Linked DNA regions of Homo sapiens: region 1 is linked to region 2. The links are contacts of gene promoters, found by promoter capture Hi-C in human tissues and cell types (Jung and others, 2019). All regions are on one chromosome and are shown on one strand. The core of a region is centred on a gene start or on the middle of the fragment in contact, and the rest is flanking DNA. Distances in the headings are between cores, read along the strand shown.

Region 1 (6,965 bases), core at 473-2,972, 45 kb before region 2:
GCTCTGAGAAGATCCATGATGGTGTAAACTAAAACAAAATATTTCTTGAATTTATTTGAGGAAAAAGTATATGATACAGTGATATATAATAATATATTATGTATTATATAATATATATTTATGTTATTATATATAATATATACATATATAGCACTAAATAATCATATAAATATATATAATGTATATAAATAAAAATATACACACATATGTTTTTTCCCTCCTCTGGTTCACATCTTAACCTAATGTAGAACTATTTCTTATAGGACATAGTTTGACAAACCCTAGATTGAAATGATAATTAAAGACCTTGGTGGTTTTTAAATATTGGCATTTTATGACTTGGTAACACTTCATTAAGCAGCACATCAAGCCAGTTACCATACTGTGATAACTGATGTGCATAATGATGACCTGCACATTTTAAAGATCCTGAAGGGCAGTCTGAGCCAATGAAGAAAGATTGAATTTATGTTCCTATGGCTAAGGACTGAGGGCCCCTTTTTATATCTGGACCTTTTGCATATTAGTACCCTGAGAGAGAGAGAGAGAGAGAGAGAGAGAGAGAGAGACAGAGACAGAGAGACAGAGAGAGAGAGAGTGAGTTTATGTATACCTTTAGTGTATACTACTAAAAGGTGAACGTTTTAAACTGTATATATGTGCAGTTGCACAGTTACACACATCCATAGTTCAGATCTAAATAGAGCTCTGCTGAAGGGGAAAAAGCAGTTGGCACCCAAAATCTTTCTGGTAAGTTTTCATAGAGGGTTCTGATAAGAGGCATTTTGTTACATGAAAAGTGCATGAGCTTGGCAATCAGACAGATATGTAGCTAGCAGGCTGAGGTCTGTGAGTTATATATCTGAACCTCAGTTTCCCATCTGTTGAATGGGGAAAAAGTAGCTACCTCTAGATGTTAAATAGCAAATGTAAAGATTCTAGCACAGAGGAAGAATTCAATAGAAACTTTAGGTAAATTTACACCTCTTTTCAATGTGTCTTCTTGAGGACAGAATCTGTAACTTCTAAACTTGGGCTCTGCACATCTAGCATACATCATCTAGCATCTCAGCCTGCCATTGACTTTCCCGATAGGATTTCTACTGAGAAAATTCAGTAGGTTCAGTGGGTTCTACTGCCAGATGTAAACTGCTTTATAAATTGATTAGTTAACCATAAAACTTAAATTTTGAAATAAACTAGGCATTTATTCTCACCATACCCCTCCTGCCAAAGCCCATTAGCGGAAGAACTAGGGTGTCCTTCTTCCCTACCTCATCCTAGTTTCTTTCTGCAAACTTCAAATTGTCACTTCCTCAGAAGGCTTTCCTTGACCACCTTGAATAGTTCATTTTCTGTTGACAGCACTGGGTACTTCTCTTTTGGAGCACATTCTGCAGCAATCTTTCTCTTTCTCTATCTCTTTGCACTTCTTTGATTTTCATCTGTTCTCCCAAACCAGTTTGTAAACTATGAGAGGGCAGAGACTATGTATGACTGCCTTTCTCTGCCAGTGTTATTTTCAGTACTGAACAGTGTTTGGCACATAGTAGGTACTGAACAAATACTTGAATGAATAAATGCTCTTTTTCCATTTCTTACTAAGAGCTTATTCCTTGTGAGTTTTTCATCAAGGCTGAACATCGTAAGTAAGCTTGCAGCCAGAGTTCTCTCTGTGCCCCACCTCTGCGTGAAAACGTAACCCAGTGACAACTAAAAGGTCACATCCTAGAGGCTTTTGGCCAGCTTGCTTACAATTGGCTTTCAACAAAACAAAAAGCGATGGAAGGCAGGTGAGATTGAATCAGAAATCATCTCCATGTTATGATCCTTTTCTTGCTGCTGGCAACATGTAGCTGTTTGCTTGGTGTAGCTCAGTTTCTGGGTTCTCTAGCGCCACCAAACTTTGCAGACTTCACTTCCGGTGGGTTCACATTTGCATGAGCTCTGGCCATCCTACATTGCTCTACCCTGTAACATTTGTGACTTAACTGCCTGGCTTCTGACCCCATCACTCCTCCACACCCTACAACCCACGTCTCCCTTGTGCTATATTCCCCAGTCTTGGCTCTGTTCCCAGTGCCCTCAGCCTGCTGCCACCCACGGCACAGCATGACGAAATGATTCCTTCGACAATATTTGCCTTTGGAAACATAGCCCACGGGCAAGAGATGCCTGGATTTAAATATCCAAACTGTATTTCTCTGCAGCAGGAATTGAGGAATTGTGTTCTCTAGGGTCTTTCCAAACCCAAGTGCCTGTGTGTTCAACAGGCTCTGTGGTTTCATGAGAGACTGTGGATGGGATTGATTTTTTTCTTTAGCTCTTCCCCAGTTGACCTTGGCTGACTGCCCTGTGTCCTGGTATCCTTCTCTAAACCCGAACATGGAGATCCCAGGAAAAGAAAATGCTAAATCAAGGCCAGTGGTGATATTTACTTAGAACAGATGGTGACACAATCCTAAGCTTTCTCGCCCTGAGCATTACTCCAGGAGAATTTTCTGGGTCTGATACAGCTGAGAAAGGATGAATTCAGGCACATTTTTTCCCTGAGCCTGTCTACAAAAAGTGTGTTAAAAACTCATTATTCATTTTTAAAAATAGAGACCTCTACAATGAATTCCACTTCTATGTTCGTAGTATGTGAAACAGCATCGTATTGGAAAGGAACCAGACTAGGTGTCTGGAGATTTGCATTCTACTTCCAGCTTGAAAAAGTTACTTAATTTTCCAGGTCTCATTTTCCTTATAGGTTAAGCTGCCTTAAGCTTCCTTATATTACCATGTGCCTAATACCATGCCTGGCTAAAGATAATATGGATAACAGCAAGGACTAACATTTATCTACGTTTTTTGTGTGCCTGTTACTCTTCTAAGCATTTTGAGGTATTCAACTATTTATTGCATGAATAAATAACTAAAAACAGAAAAATGAATCCAAGTCCTTTTGAGAAGCTTTATTTTATATATATATTTTTTATACATATTCTAATTTAATTATCCTCTCTTAGACCTCTATCTAATACTGTCCCTGCCACTTACTAATACAATTTTCTGCTTGAGTTTTTGGTATCACTAGATGGCAGGGTACATGTTCTCACTCATTTTTGTTCTCCCAGCAGCTGGTATAAATCCTAGCAGATAAAAGGTGTTCAATAAATGTAAGATTCATAAATGGTCCAAGACCAATAAAATGTAAGCTCCATGAGGGCAATGGAGCAATGGCTTTGTCTCTTGTATTCTATACTTCTCTGTGCTAAAAATTGTGCCTGGCAAAAGTAGACGCTCAACAGCTAGGTGAATGAAGGAATGAACGAACAAGCTAATGAACAAACAGTAAAGAATCCACTGACAAAGCCATGTTTGCTCTGTTTAGGGTACAAAACTACTTGAGCATCTATGGAACAACAGCAAGACTTGAGGCAGAGTAGGCTGCAGATTTTAATAACACCTGGTAGACACCAGTAGCAGGCAAGGAGCTCGCACAGTGTACAGTGTGACAGTTTGCATTTAGTTGGATGTCTTATTCATCCTCCCTAAGTACAGAGATGATAAAGAAGAATGGGATCTCAGGCTGCTGCAAGGAATAAAAATTGATACTCCTTCCCTTTGAATAAGCAAGTCTCATTGAAAGCTTTGATTCTTTTGCCTATTAGAGAGTCCATGATCCGTCACTTCAGGCGAGGCCCACGTGTATGTTTATCTGGTAAGTTTGCAAAGGAATCTGGGAAACGCTGCTACCACCACCGCAGATGGTATCTCTGCCAGCCGTTTTGAATTGTGGCAATTGCTACCGCTCCAAGCTCCTCCTGTCCCGGCCCCCTCTTTTTAATCTGCATCCTTTTATCTTTCTCATTTCACATTTGTTTTCTGATCTGCTTGGTTTTGATACTAGGAATTAAAAACAAGCATCAAATTGCATTTTAGATCTGCAGAGCCCAATCATCTCAACCTGTCATTGACTTTCCCGATAGGATTCCTACTGAGAAAATTCAGGTGAGAGGACCTTGTGGTTTCAAACAACTGATGAAATCAAGGATATCGTGGGTTGCTGATTACAGTCTGGGCCGCTTGAGCCTTTGGTTATGTAACAAAAAAAAAGTAGCAAAAACAGAAATTCCTAAAGCTGTTACATATTTAGAGTCTAGTTTGTTACATGTTAGGCTATTTTATCAACTTGTGAAAATTTGTTTTTTATTGGGATATCATCCTAAAATGAGAAAGTATAACAAGATGTGTAGTGTAATAGAACCTCAGATGGGGAGTTCAGAGACAAGTTTTGCTGTCAGCTATGACCTTCCTAGCAACTGAAAAACTTCCTCAGTTGGCTCTTTAACTAGATGTTAATGTATCATATTTTATATATTGAGATTTAGCCATGCACGGCCCAATTAACTATAGCTGGAGAGGGAAAGAGAGGCAAGTTAGAACTGAGAAATTCCTGACCAAAGTCTCTACCTTCTTTGGTTCTCAAGATAAATGCTTATTCTATAAAAGATGGAATAATAAAAATCATAATACTGGCAGCCATTGCAACATTTGTGAATGTTCTTTGTGCCAGTCACTGTGCTTAGTGCTTTAAAATCACATCATTTAATCCTTATAACACCAGCATGAGGTGACAACTTTTCTTATCCCCAAAATACTAATAAAGAGATGTGGTTTGAAAGAGGTTCAAAAACTAACACCCCAAACTGGGTCAGATCCCCTTGTTATACCCTGTACTTTTCCTTTGTATTGATTGTCGAAGCTCATAGCTAGATATTTGTGTGACTTTGTTCACATTAGATTTAGGGCATGGGCTGTAACCATTTGCTCACTGTTTTTGCATAGAATAATGCCTGGCACATAGTTAGGGCTCCATAAAAAAAAAAAAATCACTGACTGAGTAAGCTAGATTTGCTGACTGGCATAGCAGCTGGAAAGATAGGTCTGTTTGCAGGAGTTGGGTACCTGAGGTCATTGGGACAGACATCAGATCCTAGGCCAGCCCATAAGTCAACCCTGAAGGCTTAGATATGAGGAGTTGGGGGAGAGGGATCAATAGTAATGAGAGCTCCAGCAACAGATAAGCTTCTGAATTCAGACATATAATCCAAGAAATCACAGGCAAGTGACTCGATCCTAGGTCCAAGGCTATAATCTAAATAGTCAGATTTCAGTTACTAGAAGGCAGAATGATATAGCAGAAAAGGCATGAGTTCAGAGCCAGAAAAGATCTAGATACAAACCTTCATTTGGTAACTCACAGCTGTATGGTGTTGTGATTGTCAATTGGAACCCTTTTTAAATATCTTTAAATTACCTGAAAGATGGGAATAAATCTCATCTTGTAAAGCTGTGGAAACACTTGATAACTACCAAATATTGGGCCCTTAGTATAGGCCAGGTGTGTGTGTTAACACTTTATACACATTAGCTCTCTTGCACTTCACAATTATTCTATGCTACAGGAACTATTGTCACCCTTTTACAGAGGAGGAAACTGGAAGTCAAATAGCCCCAGCTGTGGAGAGAGGCAGGTTAGAAGGGAAGAACCTGGGTGGGTGCAGATTGCAGAGATCCACATTGGAAAAGAGATGGCTTACCTTTCCTGCTTTCACCCATAGATGTCATCATGATCCCCTCAGTAAGGACAGACTTTATAGTCATTTTTAGCCATATGCTGCAGGCTATCAGTACCTTTCATGCGCGTCTGTGTGAAGAGACCACCAAACAGGCTATGTGTGAGCAACATGGCTGTTTATTTCACCTGGGTGCAGGCGGGCTGAGTCCAAAAAGAAAGTCAGCGAAGGGAGATAAGGGTGGGGCCGTTTTACAGGATTTGGGTAGGTAAAGGAAAATTACAGTCAAAGGGGGTTTGTTCTCTGGTGGGCAGGAGTGGGGGTCGCAAGGTGCTCAGTGGGGGTGCTTTTTGAGCCAGGATGAGCCAGGAAAAGGACTTTCACAAGGTAATGTCATCAGTTAAGGCAAGGACCGGCCATTTAGACTTCTTTTGTGGTGGAATGCCATCAGTTAAGGTGGGGCAGGGCATATTCACTTCTTTTGTGATTCTTCAGTTACTTCAGGCCATCTGGGCATATACGTGCAAGTCACAGGGGATGCGATGGCTTGGCTTGGGCTCAGAGGCCTGACATTCCTGCCTTCTTATATTAATAAGAAAAATAAAATAGTGTTGAACTGTTGGGGCGGCGAAAATTTTTGGTGGGTGGTATGGAGAGAGAATGGGCGATGTTTCTCAGGGCTGCTTCAAGCGGGATTAGGGGCGACGTGGGAACCTAGAGTGGGAGAGATTAAGCTGAAGGGAGGTCTTGTGGTAAGGGGTGATATTGTGGGGATGTTAGAAGAAACATTTGTCGTATAGAATGATTGATGATGGCCTGGATACGGTTTTGTATGAATTGAAAAACTAAATGGAATAACAGAAGGAGAAAAACAGGTATAAAAGGTCTAAGAATTGGGACGACTCAGGATATCTGATTAGAGAGTGCTTAAGGAGATTTGGCATAGTCCTGCCAGCAAAGATTATTTATTTACTTCAAGAGTTAAGAGTGGCAGGTTGGGGATAGCACCAGGAGATATCAGCTGTGATGGCTTGGAGAAACAGTGTAAACTGGCAGTGTAAACAAGAGCAGGGCATGTATGAGTAGTTGAGAACGGCGAATAGGAGTATGACTAGACAGAAAATAGTAGGGATGACAAGTTTTTTTGGGGGGGAGGGGCACAGTCTAAGTTGGTCTGGTGTCTGGAATGAGACTGGGGCCTAATAAAAAGGAGCATCTATATAGGAGCTTAAATGCGCTGTATCCTGTAGCATTCCGAGGACAGGCCTGAATTCTGAGAAGGGAAAGTGGTAAAAGTATTGCCCAGTCCTTTTTAAGTTGGTGGCTGAGCTTGGTGAGGTGTGTTTTTAAAAGACTTTTAGTCCATTCTACTTTTCTTGAAGACGGAGGACCATAAGGGAT
Region 2 (6,701 bases), core at 682-3,181:
TTAAAAGATGGAATCATTAAATCAGAGACTCTTAATGTTGGCAGAGACCTTAGAAGTGATCTTTCCTGATTCTGTTCTCTCATCTTCCTATGCTGATGCTTATTCTTCCTTTAGAAGGTTCCTACCCAGTGCTTGCTGTTATTAGAGCCTAAGAGTTAAGAGCTGGGGCCTGATGGTGGCATTTACTGTGTTTAAATGCCCAATCTCTTTCATTAGCAGTGAAAACTTGGGGTGAGTTTTTAGACCTCTGTTTCTTCATCTATAAAATGGGCATGAGGCTACCTACACAGGTATTGTACAAATAAATGATGCAGGTGCATTTCTTAGCATGGTACCTGGCACATTCAAAATAGTGAATAAACATTAGCCTTAAAAATTATTTTAGCTAATTAATTAATATATGTGAAAGTGCATAGGAAATCACAAAGCATTTGACCTCCAAGTTGTTCCTATTTTGGGGCTTCATTGTACATGGTCAGATATTTTTTACAAATCCCAGTCCTTGTAGCTGTCACTCAAGTCCACATGATATACAGTCCTGGTGAGGGAAGTGAAGAGTCTGTGGATAAAATGGCCTATTCATATGGCAAAGCAAAATGGAGTCCAAAGTCTATTATTTCTTTCTTACTAAAGACAAAGTTGACTTTCCTTTTCCTGGATCATCTCCTGTTGGACAGGAGTCCTGGCCAGGGCAGTAAGTCAACTGGTAACGGCCAAAGCACTCAAGTTTGTAGGTTGTACTGTACATCTTAGTAGGTCTGTGTCTTTATGACTTAATCCCAGAAGTCTTATCTTTTTCATCTGTAAAACAGGGCTCATGGCCACTTTACAGGTTTGGAGTGAAGATAGATGGATAAAAATCTGTAAAGTTCCTTCAAAAACTGTATTCTGTGGCGGCTAGTGGCTGCTGCTTTGCATTTAACACTACTATCCTGAACACAGCTGATCTCTCTACAGGTTATTTCAGCAGAAGCCCTGGTCTAGGAGAGTCTATGAAGTTCCAGCTTACACCAGACATGACCAGCATCCAGAAAGACCTGAAAGAAGCTTGAATCCTCTCACTAGAATCCCTGCAAAATGACTCATGTAATTGCTCTGTGTAAGTATCCTTAGTCTTTATTGTACACCCACACGATTCTGATGCTATAGACTCCTGTGGAATGCAGGGAAAGAGAGAAGGGGGCCCATTTTAAATGCCTAGGATTGAAAAGAGACCACCGTTTCACTTGTAAAGGTAGACAGGGACTGTCAAATACCTGGTCAAAATACCTGCCAGTCACTCCAGATCCTCCCTTGTTTGTCTATCTGTCATTCCTTCCATTAGGAGAGAGAAAGCTTTTTTTTTTTTTTCCTTTAAATTTCCTAGGAGGGATTTCTAGGGTCTTTCCCTCAGGAATTAGTTGTAGGAATAATTGGGCCAGTGGAGTGCAGGAGATATATCCAGCGCAGCCCATGCACTCCTAGAAAAAGTGACCTAGATCAAGCAGCTGGTGGATTGAGGACTATTGTGGGGACCCCCTGCCACCTACTGACTTACAGCTGAACCCACATTCCCAGCAGCTTCAGCCTGGGGGCTGGGGGAGCGGGCAGACCGAGCTCAGAAAGGCAGGGGAGGGTAAAGAGGACTGTGGGGTTGCCCCTTTCAGGACCAAGTGCCACGTGTCACACACCCCCACCTCCACCTTTCTGCACACACAGAAAGGAGGATAAGGTGAGGATGGGAGGAAGGGGGAACAGGTAGGGAGGTCGGCTGTGGAACTCCAAGCTAGCTCGGTGGGTATTAGCATAGAGCTTGCTGCCTGTGTGAGTGTGAGGGGGAGAGCGAGAGAGAGCAAGGGAGGGAGAGAGAGGCAGGCTGCGAGGGGAGAGGAGAGGGAGTGGGGGAGCCAGCGCTCCAGCTAGCATGAGGACGGGCTTCTTTTCCCGTGCTCAGTTAATCTGGCTGTCAGTTGGTGTTAACGCTGCAGTTTAAGTGTTCGGATTCCAAGGGAAACAGACAAACCTCACGAAAGGAAGGAAGCAAGCAAGCAAGGAAGGAACTGCAGGAGGAAAAGAACAGGCAGAACAGCGAGAAGAATAAAGGGAAAGGGGGGGAAACACCAAATCTATGATTGGACCTGGGCTTCTTTTTCGCCAATGCAAAAAGGAATATGCAGCACATTTTTGCCTTCTTCTGCACCGGTTTCCTAGGCGCGGTAGTAGGTGCCAATTTCCCCAACAATATCCAGATCGGTGAGTGAGGGGGCAGCCTGGGGAGGGACTTTCTGGGTCTGGCCAGGGATTTTTTTGGGGATAGGGGTTGTGTACCCCCTCCCCGGTACTGACTGTTTTGCTTGGCTCCCTAAAGCTGTGCTGCGGTAACAGAAGGGAGACTTGGGCTTACAGCCAGAGGAGGGGGCTTCTCCTGATCGGATGAGGGGCAGAGGGGAAGTGTTCACACACGCACACATACCCTACTCGCACTCCAGGCAAGAGCATGTGAAATGGAGGAACCATCGCTTTGGAGGAAAAAAAAAATCAGGCTGGAAAGGGTGGTGGGTGTTTAAGGAGTTAACTCTATTGCTTGGTAGATGGTGCTTGATTCCATTTTTAATGTAAGTATGTATGGTGTGTGTGTTTTCACGTGTGTGATTATATATTACATATGCACATATATATGTAATTGAAGGAGGCAGTGCTTTCTCTGCTGGGGGACAGAAAAGAGACCCTCGAGAAGAAGGAGTGAGGGGTGCTGGGTATATTGCAGCCACTGAAATAATGCCAGAAGGCCCCCACTCCAAGGCGGGTAGGCTCCCTCTCCTGTTCTGGACTCCTCCAGCTGCCTTCTCTTTGCTGTCTGCCATGCTGCGCTGGTGGTCTCCACTCCCCCGATCCTGGAACTTCCTCGCCTGCCTTTTCTCCGTTCCTTCCTTGCCCCCTCCTCTTAGATTTCCTATCCACAGAGGTCTACCTTTTACACACACAAACACACACACGTACACATGCTCCTTTCTCCTCCTGTTGGCTCTCCATTATCCTTGTTACTGGGCTCCATCCTCTCAACTTGGAGGCAGGTTTCAACATGCTGCATGCTTTTTTTGTTCCCCATTTCCCCTTCTTAGTTGTTACACTTCTCAAAGGCCCCGCCACCCTCCCTGTATTTCTGAGGGGACTGACAGATATTGCTACTCCTGATAATCATGAGGGAAAGCAAAACAAACAGAAGCAATAACACCAATCACAAAGCATGTCCACAAGGGCTTGGGGCTTCCGTGTGACCAGCATGTCAGTGTCGTTTGTGTCCCGGAATGAAGCAAGCTGCTGTGTTTGGAAGCATCTTCGTTGGTTTGGTTTCTAGTCTCTCTCCCCTGGTAGGGAGATAGCTCCACTAGGGAAAGTTCGCATTGCTGGGAGTTTGTGCTCTTTTGTGAGTGTGTGTTTGAGGGGGGATGTGGTGCAATTGATATTTTGTCGGGCATACATGTGCTGCAGTACCCATCTCTTTCAGCCTCTCCAGCTAGCTGGCGGCTTGGAGTGGCCATGGAGTAACTTGCTTTGTTTCCTGACACCTGTTAAGCTACATCCTGAAGTGTGTACGTATCTGTGTGTTAGTGCCTAACACGCAAAACTTCCTGCCTTCAGGGGAGACACTTCCCTTGTAGCCCAGCCCGTAGCCTTCTACTCCTCAACCTCCCATCCTTTCTCTTTCATTCATTGCAGAGGAGGAGAAAGGGGACAGGGAAGTGTTTGGGGTGTGGTCATCTGGGGGGAAGGGGGAGCATCATAATCAAGAATTTTTTTTGTTTTCATTCTTTAAAATGGGAGCACTTGTACATGTGGAAATCACTGGCTCTTACATGTGGCATTGTTTACATTTGTGCTTATATACTACCTATCCTTTGTGGCTTGGAAGTGTTTGTCTAGTATATTTGTGTATATAGTAAATGGTATAAATGCATGAGGATGTTTCATGTATGTGCTATGTTTTCTCATGTATCTCTGCATATTTTTAAAATTATATTTAGCCCTAACTTGGTTGTTCAACTGATAAAGCCATTGCTACTGTTTTCAAAAAAAAAAGAGATTGAAGCATTAAATTGTAGAACAAAATGCTGAAAATATCACTGCCATCAGGTAGTACTTGATTCTATTTGTGTGATCTGTAACAAAAGGCTTGCAATCCATTTATTGGTTCTTAAAAACAGACACCCACTCTACAAGAAGTTAGAAGTGCATTATGTTTGGACTGTGATTACTGTCAGATTTGAGATAAACTTCTATGTAAACATCATTATAGTTCAGTCTCTAGAAATGGCTGATTTTAATTCACAGAAATGTAATTGATTTACATGTTGACAGTAAATACAAAGGTAAGCCATGGACTCTTGTTTCTCGGAACAGGCATCCCATCAGGCACCTTTACTATACCTTTTACTAGAATAGAATGTTTGTATCCTCTTGAGATGCCTAAGATCCCACATCTTTGAAGCACAAGGTTCCACCATGCAAACACACAATGGCAATCCCTTATGTAACAAGTCATTCCTAGGTAACTGGGATCATGTGTGGTGAAAGAGTAAGCAAAACATTGTTTGCAGAAAAGCAAGAGTTTTTAGAGAAAATGAATAATAAACCTTAGGGGCAATAGAATAGTTAAATTGCATGCAGGTCTTGCTAGGCCAAAGACTAAAAACTGTCCATGTAAACAGTTATAGTAGTGGAGAAGCCCACAGGGTCCCAGAGCTAGATTTCAATCACCCTGCAGCACTGATTAGTACCTACTTCCCGTAAGGCTCTCTGGTGAGAGATGAGGCTGATGTAAGAAAAATTAGACATGACTAGAGGGTGAGGGGGCTTATGTGTATGTTTATATAAGAGAATAGCAGCTCCTAGGTGGTTTGCACAAGGGAGGAAGAAGAGAAATGGCACAAGTCTCCTGTTTTCTCTGACTTTAGCTGAGTTGAGGGGTACACAATCAAATGTTTGAGCAAAGTAATAGATATTAGAGGCCCATGTCACAAAAAAGCTCATCTGTAGGAGTTTAAGTTTCAGTGTCCAGTTAAGCCTATTTGAACTCTCATCTCTACCACTCAAGGCTACAGCTAGTGAGTTTGGCATGGGGAGAAGAAAAGGACTCATCTGGAGTGAGTCGTGAGGAACTAAAACCTGTCTCTAGCCCATATACCATGTTGCATTTTCTTTTCTCATAGGGGGATTATTTCCAAACCAGCAGTCACAGGAACATGCTGCTTTTAGATTTGCTTTGTCGCAACTCACAGAGCCCCCGAAGCTGCTCCCCCAGATTGATATTGTGAACATCAGCGACAGCTTTGAGATGACCTATAGATGTAAGTAATTGCTTCTATTTCTGAGATGTCTTTCTGCGCTAGACCAATGAAAGGAGGGCCTGTGGGTAGGTGGTGGTGTTGCAAAAATGACTTCAGTTGCCATTCGTCTTTGTAAGAGAAAGCCCTCCAAGAAAAATTTCTAGAGGCTTCTGAGTGATTCCAGCAGTTGGCATTTTAGCCCCTGCAATGCTTCATGTAATGGATTTGCTTTTTCACTGTCAGCTAACTTTAATGCCAGCACGATGGGTGCTTGGGTTGACTGCATCTTCCCTACCTTGCAGAGGTTTTCTGGCACAGCTGAGAGAGTTTTACACATACGAATCTTCTGAGAGGCATAGAATTAAGGGTCCTGAGTTTGTGAAAATGTGGTTTAAAGTGCTTAAGGCATTTCCTATCTACATGTTAAATGGACAGAATGTAGCTTGATAAGAAATAATAGCTGAGAAGTTGTACACATCTGGTTCTTCATTTTCGGAAGTGACCAATAATTAAAACTTGGTGCCTTGGTCATTTTAAAAATAGCTTGAGGAAATTGGTTGTTTAAGGCACAGTTTGTAGGATGGTCATTGAGCATCAAACAGAACAAAGGTGGCCTCAAGAAGAAGGGATAGATAAATCTCTGACATCTGAATTGAATGCATTGTAAAATGTGGGCAACAAACACCATTCTGAGTTTTCCTGGCAACTAGGAATGAAAAGGAAGCCTGTGCTCACATGATTGGCTTTTCATGACAGATGAAAGCATAAAAATTAATCAGGAAACATATTTTCCCTTCAGGGATTAAGCTCAAGTAAAAATTTATGGCAGGGAAATGTGAGCTGAATTCACAAGAACAATTTGAGACCCCAAACTGGATTGAATTGGCACGATAGTCTTGGTGTGTCACTATTGACTTGGTGACTTCTGCTGAGCTGTCTCTGGTGGAAGTCATGGACCATATTTCCTTTGTGTCTTTCTCATAGTCCCACTGGTGAGTTCTCAATGATTTGAATAGGCTATGCTTTGAAGTCTCAAAATGAGAAGTCAGAATTCTTTCTATCCCAAAGACCACTCCTAAAATAATGTTGTTACAAATTCCAAGAACTATAATTATAGCAGATTTCATTTATTGAGAACTTACTGTGCATCAGAACTATGATAAATACTTTATAGTCATTTATAGTCACATTCATTACCATGTATTAAGCACTGACTACAGCCCATGTAATGCACTAATTGCTTTTTATGTGTTAGCTCATTTAATCCTCACAGGAGCTTTGCAGAGTACTAGACATTATCTTCCTTTTAGAGATGAGAAAACTGAGGCTACAACAGATTATATAACTTGCCCAAGGTTACTCAGGAAGCAAATGGTGGTTTTGAGACCTGAAGGT

What was found. The method cuts DNA at HindIII sites, captures the fragments that hold promoters and counts their contacts. A contact is called where the count stands out against the background at its distance.
Region 1: a contact is called between a fragment that was not itself captured here and the fragment with the promoter of GRIA1 in region 2, in 3 of the 25 tissues and cell types used here (aorta, dorsolateral prefrontal cortex and hippocampus).

Annotation. Positions count from the first base shown.
Region 1 is chr5:153,444,002-153,450,966 of GRCh38, forward strand. No RefSeq gene overlaps it. Among named protein-coding and RNA genes, the nearest start is that of GRIA1, 43 kb to the right of the region's middle. RefSeq lists an enhancer at 5,722-6,582. The HindIII fragment of the contact is 3,143 bases long and covers 152-3,294 here.
Region 2 is chr5:153,488,739-153,495,439 of GRCh38, forward strand. GRIA1 (glutamate ionotropic receptor AMPA type subunit 1) reads left to right here and starts at 1,932. Exons shown (of 16, transcript NM_000827.4): 1 at 1,932-2,232; 2 at 5,190-5,327. The coding sequence starts at 2,151. The HindIII fragment of the contact is 6,455 bases long and covers 1-4,913 here.